Regions from separate parts of the Homo sapiens genome. Here all the other regions are linked to region 1. Evidence: promoter capture Hi-C in 16 types of primary human blood cells and fetal thymus (Javierre and others, 2016). All regions are on one chromosome and are shown on one strand. The core of a region is centred on a gene start or on the middle of the fragment in contact, and the rest is flanking DNA. Distances in the headings are between cores, read along the strand shown.

Region 1 (3,860 bases), core at 1,351-3,850:
AGAATTTAAAGATAAAATAAAACTGATGAGAAGTCAGTCTGCTTTTATGATCACTGTGCAATGGCAGATCTAAATAATTTCAGTGGTAAAATACTTTGTCCTGAAAATACCCTTTATTGATCTAAGTTCTAACAATTGGTGCAGTAACTGTTGGGGTTTAATAATGTATATGTAAAGCTTCAAATCAGCACATTTTTATTCTTATCCTTTAATAAACATATTCTACATGGAAGTCAACTTGACTTGGAGAACTTTAAGAATCCTATAGTTGCCCCCAGAGCATGTGGTCTCAGGAACACACATCAGTTGAGAGTAAGCTCCTCACAACTCTGGAATCTTCCAAGCTTGCTTTGAATGCATTCCTGTCTCCACCGTCCAGCATTCATATTTCTGCATTTATTTTTATTATTATTTTGTGTGTGTGACAGAGTCTCTCTCTGTCGCCCAGGCTGGAGTGCAGCGGCAAGATGTCGGTTCACTGCCACCTCCACCTCCCGGGTTCAAGCAATTCTCCTGCCTCAGCCTCCTGAGTACTTGGGACTATAGGTGTGCACCCACCACGTCCGGCTAATTTTTGTATTTTTTTTTTTAGTAGGGACGGGTTTCACCATGTTGGCCAGGCTGGCCTTGAACTCCTGATCTCAGGTGGTTCTCCCACTTTGGCCTCCCAAATTACAGACGTGAGCCACCGGCCCAGCTGTATTTCTGTGTTTAAACAGTAGAGTGAAATCAACTATGAACGCAGAATGATGGGAAAGATGACGATAAGGGTATTTCAATTTTGTCATTTTACGAAACTACTTGGAGTTTTGATTTGTATTTACAGTTTTTAAAAGAGTAAAACAGTGTGAACTGTGAATGGTAATGATTTTGTTTGGTAAGTGCAAATTTTAATTCATACATGAAAAATATTTGTTTTGTTTCATGATTATTACTGAAAATAATTTTGTACTATGAAGGAAGAGGGGTGTTAAAAATGATCCACTGTGGATGTAAATTATTCTAGGCATGCTTCTGACTAAAACATTAGCATTTCCACAAGAATCCCAAAAAATAAAACAAAATTTAAAAGATCCCTTCTGTTTCTTTTCCTCCAAGTTTCCAGACCCCCATCTCCACCCTGGCCACCTCTTCCTGCCATAAATAATCAAATCCCACACTTTCATCTTCACCTTCCGTTTCCATTGCCTCTTCCGATGGGACAGCACCCGTGGGGAATCTCCTCCATGCTCACAATCCCCGTCTTGCCACTATATCAAGTCACACTTCTTCCTCACCAATCGCCCATTCTGGAACCTCTGCTATCCAGCTAGATCACTTTGAGGTTTGGACAACTACTGGTGGAGGTAATGGGGGCCCCAGACAGCCCTTGACATCACCTCTTTTATCTTTGCCAAATTCTACAAACAAAGCCCATGTCTTTCTGTCCCCCGCCCCCATGGCTGGCACATAGTAGATGTCCCCAAATCTTGGTGATGTGAACTTGTGTGTCTCACCCTTCACAGACATCACCATTTCCCGTTGCACAGAAGGCTCCACTCATACCAGGCGCTTTGGCTCCCAGAATAAGCAGGCTATCATGCTATGTCCGACATCTAGGCGTTGGTACGTACTGTTCCCTTGGCCTGGAACATTCTGCCCTCTCTCACCCTCTCTTTTCTTGGCTTTCTGAAATGGCACCTCCATCAGAAAGTGTCCCTCACTCTTGGTCTGAGCAAGGGACCTTGCCTGGTATTCCTGAACTTCCACCTGTTTTCCCTCTGTTTTCTCCCTCTCTGGGCCTTGTCCTCAGGTCAGTGTTGTGCCTCCAGCTCCTGCAGAGGCGAACTCAGAGGCGGCCGAATGAAACCAAATGGATTTGGCTTGACCCCATCATCTAGCGGTGCCCAGCAAGCGCTGGCACATAGTAGGTCCAGCCTGCCCGGACTCGCCCACCACGGGCCCCCTTCCAGAGCCGGGAGGCAGGCCAAGGGAGGCCCCTTATTGCCAAGAGCAAACAGGCCGCCCAGGGAAGTTTTGCTCTGGGTCACACCCACCTCTGGGTGGCTGCCAATCTGCCTGCCAGAAACCGCAGGCTGGGCCGCGGCTACCCAGAGTCAGGGCCACGGAGCTTAGGAGACCTTGGGTCAGCTCTGCAAAGGGGTTGTTTACTGAATGCTTCTGGTATCTGCAGCCCCGCTGGGGTTCGGACAGGGGGTCTGGAATAGGGCTTCACAACTACAGCAGGGCTAGGACCCTCTTGGGCTGGAAGGAGCTGGAGAGGCCTCTGCAAGCTGTCACAGGCTCTTGGTGCTGGCACTGGCTCAGGCTTTCACACACACACACGCGCACACACACACACACACACACACGGACAGGCACCCCCTTGGTGGCCTTCACAGTTTCACCTTCAGGTAAATGGGCTCATCCTTTGAGCCATGAGGATGGGAAGCGAAGCAAGGAATGAAAAAGCTAGTGTGTTTGTGTGTGTGTGTGTGTGTGTGTGTGTGTGTGAGCGCGCGCGCGCGCGCGCGTGTGTACTCGTGCGTGTGCCTGTGTGTGCCTGGGAGTGACCTCACAGCTGCCGGAACATAAAGACTCACAGGTCCGCCTCCCAGGCTCAAAGCTGGCTCTGCAGGGGACATGAGAGGCACACCGAAGACCCACCTCCTGGCCTTCTCCCTCCTCTGCCTCCTCTCAAAGGTAAGGAGGCCCGGGCCCTGGAATGCACTGCTGACTATTTGGGTGTGGAGGGGGTGGGGATGTAAAATCGCAGCCAAGGACCCCCTTGGCAGAATTCCTCCAGGGCCCCACATTGGGCACAGTCTGGCCCCCATGCCTAAGCAGGGCTTCTCTCCCTGGAACTCAGAGCTGCCTCCGGCCAGCCCTGCTGTGTGACCTCAGATATGTGTCTTGCCTTCTCTGGGCCTCAGCATCTTCCCAGGTGAAGGGTATACAGTTTGTGAGGCCTCTGTGAAGACCATTCATGATCATTCATCAAACTTACCAGGCAAATTGAAGAGGACTTTAATGTATCCTCATTATGAATGGGGGCACTCAAGACATGACATGCTTGGCCTAACTCTGAGCCAGCATTTGGATGGATGCCTAGCTGATTGGAAGGTTCATTCTGCAAGGGCATCAATGCTGTTGGACTCTTAGGCAGTGAGTGACCCGCCCGCCCTAGCTAGAGGGGAACAGGAGACACCTCTGTGGAGTAATGGCCTTATCCCTGAATGCTGCATGGGACATTCACCAAAGAGCCTGTGGGACATCTACCTTGTCTAACATGCACAACAATCCCATAAGGAATTTTCAGTTAAGTGAGGCTCAGAAAGGGTAAGCAACTTGCAACCCCAGTTTTCAGTCAAGTGAGGCTCAGAAAGGGTAAGCAACTTGCCCAAAGCCACACAGCAAAGAAAGGTCAGAGCAATAGAGGAGAGCCATGGTGGAGCCCAGAATGACATGGATGTAGGGGGAGAAGCACTCCAGTCTGTGCCTCCCCAAGCCCAAACTGGACCAAGGCCACAGCTGCTAAGCCTTGTCATCCCCTCGGCAAATGCTGAGTTCCCAGAGCCATGGAATCGGCCCCACCACAAGCCACGATCTCACTGTATTTTCACGCTCCTTTGAGGAGCACGGGCAGGAGCTTCTCTCCCTCAGGCTCCAAGTCTTCGTGCCTGGGAAGCCTGAGAACCACGCTGGCATCCTGTCCTGCTGTTTGTTCTTCCAAAGGGGATGGGTAGGGCATGATGCCAGTGTGGGTGGCTTGGGTAGTTGGAATAGGGGACTTGGGGCTCTAGGAGGGAGAAGGGGCCCAGGATTATACGAGAACAAAGTAAAGCTGTCCTAGACTTGCCATTAGGGTGAGACTTACGGGA
Region 2 (4,217 bases), core at 1,302-3,801, 330 kb before region 1:
AGTTTTGATTTGCACTTCCCTAATGATTAGTGATGTTAAGTATCTTTTTATGTGCTTAATGGTTATTTGTATATCTTCCTTGGAGAAATGCCTATTCAAGTCCTTTGCCAATTTTTTTGTTTTCTTGAGACAGGTCTTGCTCTGTCACCCAGGCTAGAGTGCAGCAGCAGGATCGTGGCTCACCACAGCCTCAAACTCCTTGACTCAAGTGGTCCTCCCACCTCGGCCTCCCAAGTAAGCTGGGACTACAGGTGTGCAGCATGCCTGGCTAATTTTTAAATTTTTCTGTAGAGACAAAGTTTCACTATGTTGCCCAGGCTGGTCTTAAACTCCTGAGCTCAAGCAATCCTCCTGCCTCTGCCTCACAAAGTGGTGAGATTACAGACTTGAGCCACTACACCTGGCCTCTTTGTCCATTTTTAAAGTTTTTGGTTGTTGTTATTGAGTTGTAAGAGTTCTTTATATATTTCGGACATTAACCCCTTATCAGATATATGATTGGCAAATATTTTCTCCCATTCTGTAAGTTGCTTTTTCACTCAGTCAAGTGTCCTTTGGTGCACAAATTTTTCTAATTTTGATGTAGTCCAATTTATCTAATTTTTAAAAATTTCCTGTGCTTTTGGTGTCATATCCAAGAAATCATCACCAAATCTAATATCATGAAGCTTTTCCCTTATGTTTTATTCCAAAGGTTTTATACTTTTCCGTCAAACTCATTTTTAGTTAATTTTCGTATATGGTGTAAGGAAAGAGTCTGATTTCATTCTTTTGCATGTGGATATACAGTTTCCCAAACATGAATTTGGTTTTGATAGTACTTTGTTAATTAAGACTTTTGCACCTGGTAGACGCTCTTTGACCTCTAACCCACTGGAATCCTCTCACCATCCTTCCCTGACAGTTGACCATTTAGCTTGGGCTTAATACTTCCAATGACGGAATACTCACTACTTAATAAAGCAGCTTTTCCTGTGGTAGAACAATTGTATTTTATAGAAAGATCTCCATTTTGAGCCTCAAGTTTCCTCCCTGTAGCATCCACATTTTGGTCCTCGTTCATTCTCTGAAGCTGTAGGAATCAGTGAGAGCTTTTTTTTTTTTTTTTTTTGAGACAGAGTTTTACTCTGTCACCCAGGCTGGAGTGCAGTGGCACGATCTCTGCTCACTGCAACCTCCAACTCCAGGGTTCAAATGATTCTCCTGTCTCACTCTCCTGAGTAGCTGGGACTACAGGCACATGACACCACATCTGGCTTATTTTTGTATTTTTAGTAGACGGGGTTTCACCATGTTGGCCACGTGAAACTGGTCTCAAACTCCTGGCTTCAACTGATCTGCCTGCCTCAGCCCCACAAGTGCTGAGATTACAGGCGTGAGCCACTTCACCCAGCCAGTGGGCACTCTTTTCCAAAGGAAAGTACTTTGTTGCCTTTTTTTTGAGACTGAGTCTCAATCTATCACCCAGGATGGCGTGCAGCGGCACGATCTCAGCTCATTGCAACCTCTGCCTCCCAGGTTCAAGTGATTCTTGTGCCTCAGCCTCCCAAGTAGCTGGGATTACAGGTGACTGCCACCACGCCCGGCTAATTTTTGTGTTTTTAGTAGAGACAGGGTTTCACCATGTTGGTCAGGCTGGTCTGGAACTCCTGACCTCAAGTGATCCACCCACCTCAGCCTCCCAAAGTGCTGGGATTACAGGCCTGAGCCACCGCACCCGGCAGGAAAGTACTTTGAATTGAGTAAATAACGCAACTATATGCTGGGCAGCTACCTGCCAGGTTTATAAGGTTTAACACATTTACTCCACAAAGCAATCTATGAAAAGGTCCTATCATTGATTCCTATTTTATAGATGAAGCAAATAAGGCTTGAAGAGCTTATGATTTTAGCAAGGTCCAACAGCTATGTAAATGGCACCACTGATATTTCAAAGGCAATGGCCCTGACCACTCTGCTACACCACCTTTCTCTCCTCTTCTCCAATACCCAGCCCAAAACTCTTTTGGATCTTTGATTATTCTTCAAGGGGCATAGCTTTCTTTCTTTCTTTCTTTCTTTTTTTTTTTTGAGACGAACTCTCGCTCTGCTGCCGGGCTAGAGTGCGGTGGCGAGATCTCGGCTCACTGCACCCTCCGCCTCCCAGGTTCAAGCAATTCTCCTGCCTCAGCCTCCCAAGTAGCTGGGACTACAGGTGCGTACCACTACGCAAGGCTAATTTTTGTATTTTTAGTAGAGATGGAGTTTCACCATGTTGGCCAACATGATCTCGATCTCTTGACCTCGTGATCCGCCCGCCTTGGCCTCCCAAAGCGCCAGGATTACAGGCATGAGCCATGCCGCTGCACTCGGCCTAAGGGGCATAGCTTTCTCATCCTCTGCCATCCTAGGAAAATTTTAAGTATTCATATTAAAATGAAAACTAAACACAATTGTCCATATATGCTCCTTAGGAGTAGAATGCCAAGGACCTCTTAGCTCCTCTGACCTGGGAACTACATTCTCTCTAATGATACATACGACTGGGTTAGAGGTTTGGGCAGCTGCCACCAAGTAAAACCTCTAGAATTTTGCTATGTCACTTTCTGCTAAGGTAGCTTTTCCCATCTACACTAAATAAATAAATCATCCAGGTGATTTATTTTTAACCAATGCAGAGGATTTTTTACTTATCTCCATGGAGTTCAAACATTTCTCCAGGCTGGGTGGGGTGACTCACGTCTGTAATCCCAACACTTTGAAGACTAAGAAGGGGCAGATTGCTTGAACCCAAGAGTTCCAGACCAGCCTGGGCAACATGGTGAAATCCCATATCTACAAAATATAGAAAAATTAGCCAGGGGTGGTGGTCCACACATGTAGTCCCAGCTACTCTGGAGGCTGAGGTAGGAGGATCATCTGAGCCTGGAGACTTGGAGGCTGCAGTGAGCTGTGATGGCGCCACTGCACTCCAGCCTGAGTGACAGAGACCCTGTCTCAAAAAAAACAAACAATAATTCACCAAATCTATTTGGATCTGGATCCTGCCATCATTTTATAGGTAATGCCTCCATAGCACTCACTAAGTGCCAGGCACACTTCTAAGCCCTTTTTATACATTAACACAAATAATCCCCACCACGACCTAATGCCATACACATCATTATGGTCACTATTTTGCAAATAAGAAAACAGTCACAGAGCAGTTCAGTAACTTGTCCAGGGTCACACAGCTAGTCCATGACTGAACCAGAATTTAAGCCCAGGATGTCAAGTTCCAGAATTGGTACACTCAGCCTCAATACTGTGCTGCCTTCAAATATTCTGACAATCTTAGACAGCTTTGGGGATCCAAAAGATTGAGAAGTACTCTTGGGGACCTCTTTTTTTTTTTTTTTTTTAAATACGGAGTCTCAACTCTCTCCCCCAGGCTGGAGTGCAGTGGTACAATCTCAGCTCACTGCAACCTCCGCCTCCTGGGTTCAAGTGATTCTCCTGCCTCAGCCTCCCAAGAGGCTGGGATATTACAGGCACATGCCATCATGCCCAGCTAATTTTTGCATTTTAAGTAGAGACAGGATATCACCATGTTGGCTAGGGTGGTCTTGAACTCCTGACCTCAAGTGATCTGCCCACCTCAGCCCCCCAAACTGCTGGGATTACAGGCATGAGCCACCGCACCTGGCTCCCATTTTTTTTTTAAGACGGAGTTTCACTCTTGTTGCCCAGGCTGGAGTGCAATGGAGCGATCTCGGCTCACTGCAACCTCCGCCTCCCAGGTTCAAGCAATTCTCCTGTCTCAGCCTCCTGAGTAGCTGGGATTACAGGCACATGCCACCACACCCGGCTAATTTTTGTATTTTTAGTAGAGATGGGGTTTCCTCATATTGGTCAGGCTGGTCTCGAACTCCTGACCTCAGGTGATCTTCCCACCTCGGCCTCCCAAATTCCTGGGATTACAGGTGTGAGCCATCACGCCTGGCCCCTGGCTCCTTTTTTTTTTTTTTTTTTTTTTTTTTAAATAAAGACCAAAGGTCCAGAGGCTTTGAAAGGCAAATAGTATTAAGTCAGGATTTGATATCAGGATTTCTTTCATTCTGTTTATTTTCTCATTGCTTTCTACTTATGATACTGTTTCATTTGGTAGTAATAATATTTCTTTCTAAAATAAATTGAAGTAAAAAGAAGTGAGTTGATGTAAGAAAAATGTTACAGATATGAAAAAATCATAATGGTCA
Region 3 (3,812 bases), core at 931-3,430, 500 kb before region 1:
GATGGGGAATAGGCAAGGGTTGGGAAGCGGGAATTCGCCGCTCTTTCTTGTCATTCTCTTCATAGCCCCCAAGCTACTGTGGTCTATTGTTTTGATAGTTGCTTTCCCGAAATGTTAACAGGATGGAGAGTAAAGGAGGTAAAGGAGGACTCTGATGCCTCAGCCATGCGCCTGTGTGCCGATTCCCATTAAGCCTGCACCAATTTGATTTCCAAGACTCCAGTCAATCCTCAGAGCTCCAGGAGGGGAGGGGCAGCTTTTCCTGGTAGCTGCTGATCACCAGCAGAGGGAGCCCTAGGACTGCAGGGCCTCTTTCCTTACCGTTGGTGAAGCCCTTCACTGTGGCTTCAAAACTGTGGAAGACCCGGGATTTGTGGATCACTTGCCTTTAGAATAGAATCAAGAAATAAAGCTGCAGAAGAAAGAATCTCCATGTGGTAAGGATTGGAAGGGAGTGTTGAGAGGGGCTTTTGGGGTGCTGGTAATATTGTTCTTTGACCCGATGTTGGTTATAGGAGTGTGTGCTATAATGTGGTATATGTACATTTTTCTGTGCGTATAACTAAACTTCAGTTAAAAGTTTTTAAAACTTAAACATCTCTATGTATACCACAAAATAGGTATCAGGTTAGGGTGAGCGGTTTTTTTCCCTACAATTCTTAACCTTATCTGAGTCACAAGACAGCCCTCCCTCCCTTCCTCCGAGAAAGCCACAGACCACTGGTTAAGGACTTCTCCTGCAGCAGCCGAATAGAGAAAGTGAGCAAAGGACATGAGCAGACGGTTCACAGCAAAAGAAATACAAATAGCACTTAAACTTATGAAAAAATGCTCAATCTCAATCTTCAAAGAGAAGTGCTTATAAAAAGTATGCGGAGATACCATTTTTAACCTGTCAGATTGGCAGAAATCCCAAAGCTTGACAGCATGCCCTGTGGATGGGGCTGGAGGTGGGGGAGTCGGGAGAATAAATAGCAGGACTTTTAATACATTACCAGTGGGATTGTGAAATTGACAGCCCTGTTGATTTGGGCAATATCTACCAAAATTACAAGTCTAAGAGTCTACCCTGTAGATGACATTTGTACCTATATGTAATAATTTATGTAAAAGATGATCCATTGCAACATTGGCTGCAATAGCAAAAGATCAGAAACAACTGAAGTGTATGTACAGGACTGGTGCATCCACAAAGCAAAATACTATATAACTGGGAAAAAGTTTGAGGAAGCTGTGTGTGCGCTGAGGAAAGATCTCTAAGATATAGGTGAAAAAAAGCACGACGTACAGCTAAGAATATATGTTTGTATTGCTTCTATCTTCATAAAGAAAAACTGATAAGCTAGACAAGTAACTAAGAAGTGTTTCAGGAAGTGGTTGGGGGCCAGCAGGAGGGGCCGGGCTTCTGAGTGTATACCTTGTGTTCTGATTTTTGAATCATGTCAGTGTATAACCTGTGCAAAACAAAACAAAGTTTAGAGTTCCTGCTCTAAAGCTGCTGAGCTAAGCCTTTAGGAATTCATAAATTATTATATCTGCCCAATTAAAGAATAGGTGGGTTTGGTTTTTCAGTTTGAACTGAGCTGTGTCTTGGTGAGAGTCTTCAGCTTACTCCACATTTGAACACAGTTCAGGAAAGTGTATTGCAGTTTCCTGGCTCAGCCTAACTCTCAAGAATTCTTTCTTTACCCTCCATATGCTCAAAACCAATCTTGCCCCTCAAGTGTTGACACTCAGCTAGCTATCATTTTTCAAAGTATTTCATTTTCAGCTTATGTATTCATGAGCATCTAACTCTGCCTGAGGGGGAGAAGAGAAGTTTTCACCAGAAAAGTATATCTGTGTTTTCAGAAACCAATAGATATGAAATCTTGCTCTCCATCCCTTATCTTTGCCTGTCTCTATAGCCATCCTTTCTCCTTTCCCTCCTCCTAGCTAAAACCAATCCCAGCTCTCCTCCCTTCTCAGGAAACTCACTTTCTTCTGTATATGCAAACACACATCATGTCTTCTGTCATAGTAAAACCAAAAACAAAAAAAGCAAACCCCAAACCCACAAAGCCCCCTTCTACCCAGGTTCCCCACAGAGCTCCTGTCCTTTTCTCCCTGTTGGAGCCTTAGCCAGTGGCTCTACTTCTTCCCCTCTCCACCCACCCCCCTTCTCTCTCTCTCTGGGTCGGTCTCTCTCTGTCTCTCTCTCTCTCTCAGTGGCTGTACTTCTTCCCCTCTCCACCCACCCCCCTTCTCTCTCTGTGTGTGTGTGTGTGTGTGTGTGTGTGTGTCTCTGTGTCTCTGTCTCACCACCCTTTCTTCAATCTACTGCAACCAGACTTCTATCTCACCAAAACGTTCCTTGCCAAGGTCATGGATAACCTCCTTGTTGCTGAATACAGTGGCCCTAGTCTCATTCTCATGTTGCTTGAGTTTTGAGCCCTGCCTGACGCTGAACACAGCCGCCTCCTCCACTCGCTCTCCTTTCAGTCCCTGTGGCCACTGCTCACAGGGGCACCCTCTCAGCCTCACCTTTTCTATCTCCTCTGCAGGCTCCTCTTTTCTTGCCGGTCTGCTGACCCTCAGGGGCCATGCCTTGGCTGTCTTCTCATCTCACATTCACTTCCAGGATGATGCCGGGTTGGAGAATATGGAAAACAAATCTGACTTGCTCGAGTGAAAAAGGAATCCACTAGAAGAATGTCAGAAAGCTCACTCAACAAAAGGAAAAGCTAAACAGCTAGGCCTTATCAGCCTGGGAGCCAGACCGAGCCCTTCCCAGGTGCCAGGAATCTCTGAGCATTGCCTCAGGCGATTCAGTTCCACACATCTTTGTTCCTGATACATCTCTCCGTACAAGATTCAAATTCCCAGGAAAGAAACTGATTGGCTTTCATGGCAGGGTCATATTTGACCCACTCCTACTCACAGGGGCAAAAACTGTAACTTCCTTTGTATTTTTTCTTTTTCTTTTCTTTTTTTTTTTTTGAGATGGCGTCTCGCTCTGTCGCCCAGGCTGGAGTGCAGTGGCACGATCTCGGCTCACTGTAACTTCCACCTCCCAGGTTCAAGCTATCCTCCTGCCTCAGCCTCCCGAGTAACCGGGACCGCAGGCATGCGCCACCATTCCTGGCTAATTTTTGCATTTTTAGCAGAGACGGGTGTTTTACTATGTTGGCCAGGCTGGTCTCGAACCCTGACCTCAAGTGATCTGCCCGCCTGGACCTCCCAAAGTGCTAGGATTACAGGCACGAGCCACCACACCCAGCCCTGTATTTTCATCTAATCTCATTTTCATCTCAAACTTCCATTCTCCCAACTTGAGGGGATATTTCCTTCTCTTCTGGTTTACAGCGCTCTGTTTTGCACAGATATTCAGTGTTCAGGATCCTCCTCTCTCCTGTGTGCTCCCATCCTCCCGGCGTGGCATCTGGGTATAAGGGGGCAGTGGGTAAGCTTTATGGCTCAGATGCCATTCCCTGCCTGTTGCTGGTCTTCACTCCCACGTGGTCGCTCGGAATTTGTCCCCGGGCATTACGGATTATGGTGGAACCTACCAAAATGGGGTGAACCTGATTTAGTTCCTGAGCAGTACACGGACCTGCTTAGAAAATTGCCTGTCTGTAGCCATGAGGTCCTCATGTGCCACAACCCTCGCAGCTTGTCACCTGGCCTCTCTTTGTCCCTCAGTCCACTTAGCACATCACTGGGACATGTGGACACATCTGGATTACCACCTACATGGCACCCACAGGTCAAGGGGACAACGGGCTGCTGTTACCACAGCTTCGGTGCCAGCTTAGTGCTGTCACGTGGTCAGT

The links. The method cuts DNA at HindIII sites, captures the fragments that hold promoters and counts their contacts. A CHiCAGO score of 5 or more calls a contact.
Region 2: a fragment that was not itself captured here is called in contact with the fragment with the promoter of CCN5 in region 1 in 6 of 17 cell types (total CD8 T cells, naive CD8 T cells, fetal thymus and 3 more); the score reaches 10.9 in total CD8 T cells.
Region 3: a contact is called between a fragment that was not itself captured here and the fragment with the promoter of CCN5 in region 1, in 4 of 17 cell types (naive CD8 T cells, monocytes, fetal thymus and 1 more). The highest score is 7.3, in naive CD8 T cells.

Annotation. Positions count from the first base shown.
Region 1 is chr20:44,712,769-44,716,628 of GRCh38, forward strand. It overlaps CCN5 (cellular communication network factor 5), which reads left to right and starts at 2,601. Exons shown (of 4, transcript NM_003881.4): 1 at 2,601-2,682. The coding sequence starts at 2,623. KCNK15-AS1 (KCNK15 and WISP2 antisense RNA 1) reads right to left here. Exons shown (of 5, transcript NR_132377.1): 4 at 3,857-3,860. LOC124904911 (a long non-coding RNA gene) reads right to left here and starts at 2,006. Exons shown (of 2, transcript XR_007067598.1): 1 at 1,173-2,006. RefSeq lists a silencer at 1,900-2,194. The HindIII fragment of the contact is 18,609 bases long and covers 343-3,860 here.
Region 2 is chr20:44,380,188-44,384,404 of GRCh38, forward strand. The region is part of intron 1 of HNF4A (hepatocyte nuclear factor 4 alpha); the gene reads left to right. All of the region lies in intron 2 of HNF4A-AS1 (HNF4A antisense RNA 1), which reads right to left. Among named protein-coding and RNA genes, the nearest start is that of HNF4A-AS1, 13 kb to the right of the region's middle. The HindIII fragment of the contact is 3,770 bases long and covers 667-4,217 here.
Region 3 is chr20:44,217,246-44,221,057 of GRCh38, forward strand. All of the region lies in intron 2 of OSER1-DT (OSER1 divergent transcript), which reads left to right. Among named protein-coding and RNA genes, the nearest start is that of OSER1-DT, 8.2 kb to the left of the region's middle. The HindIII fragment of the contact is 2,529 bases long and covers 917-3,445 here.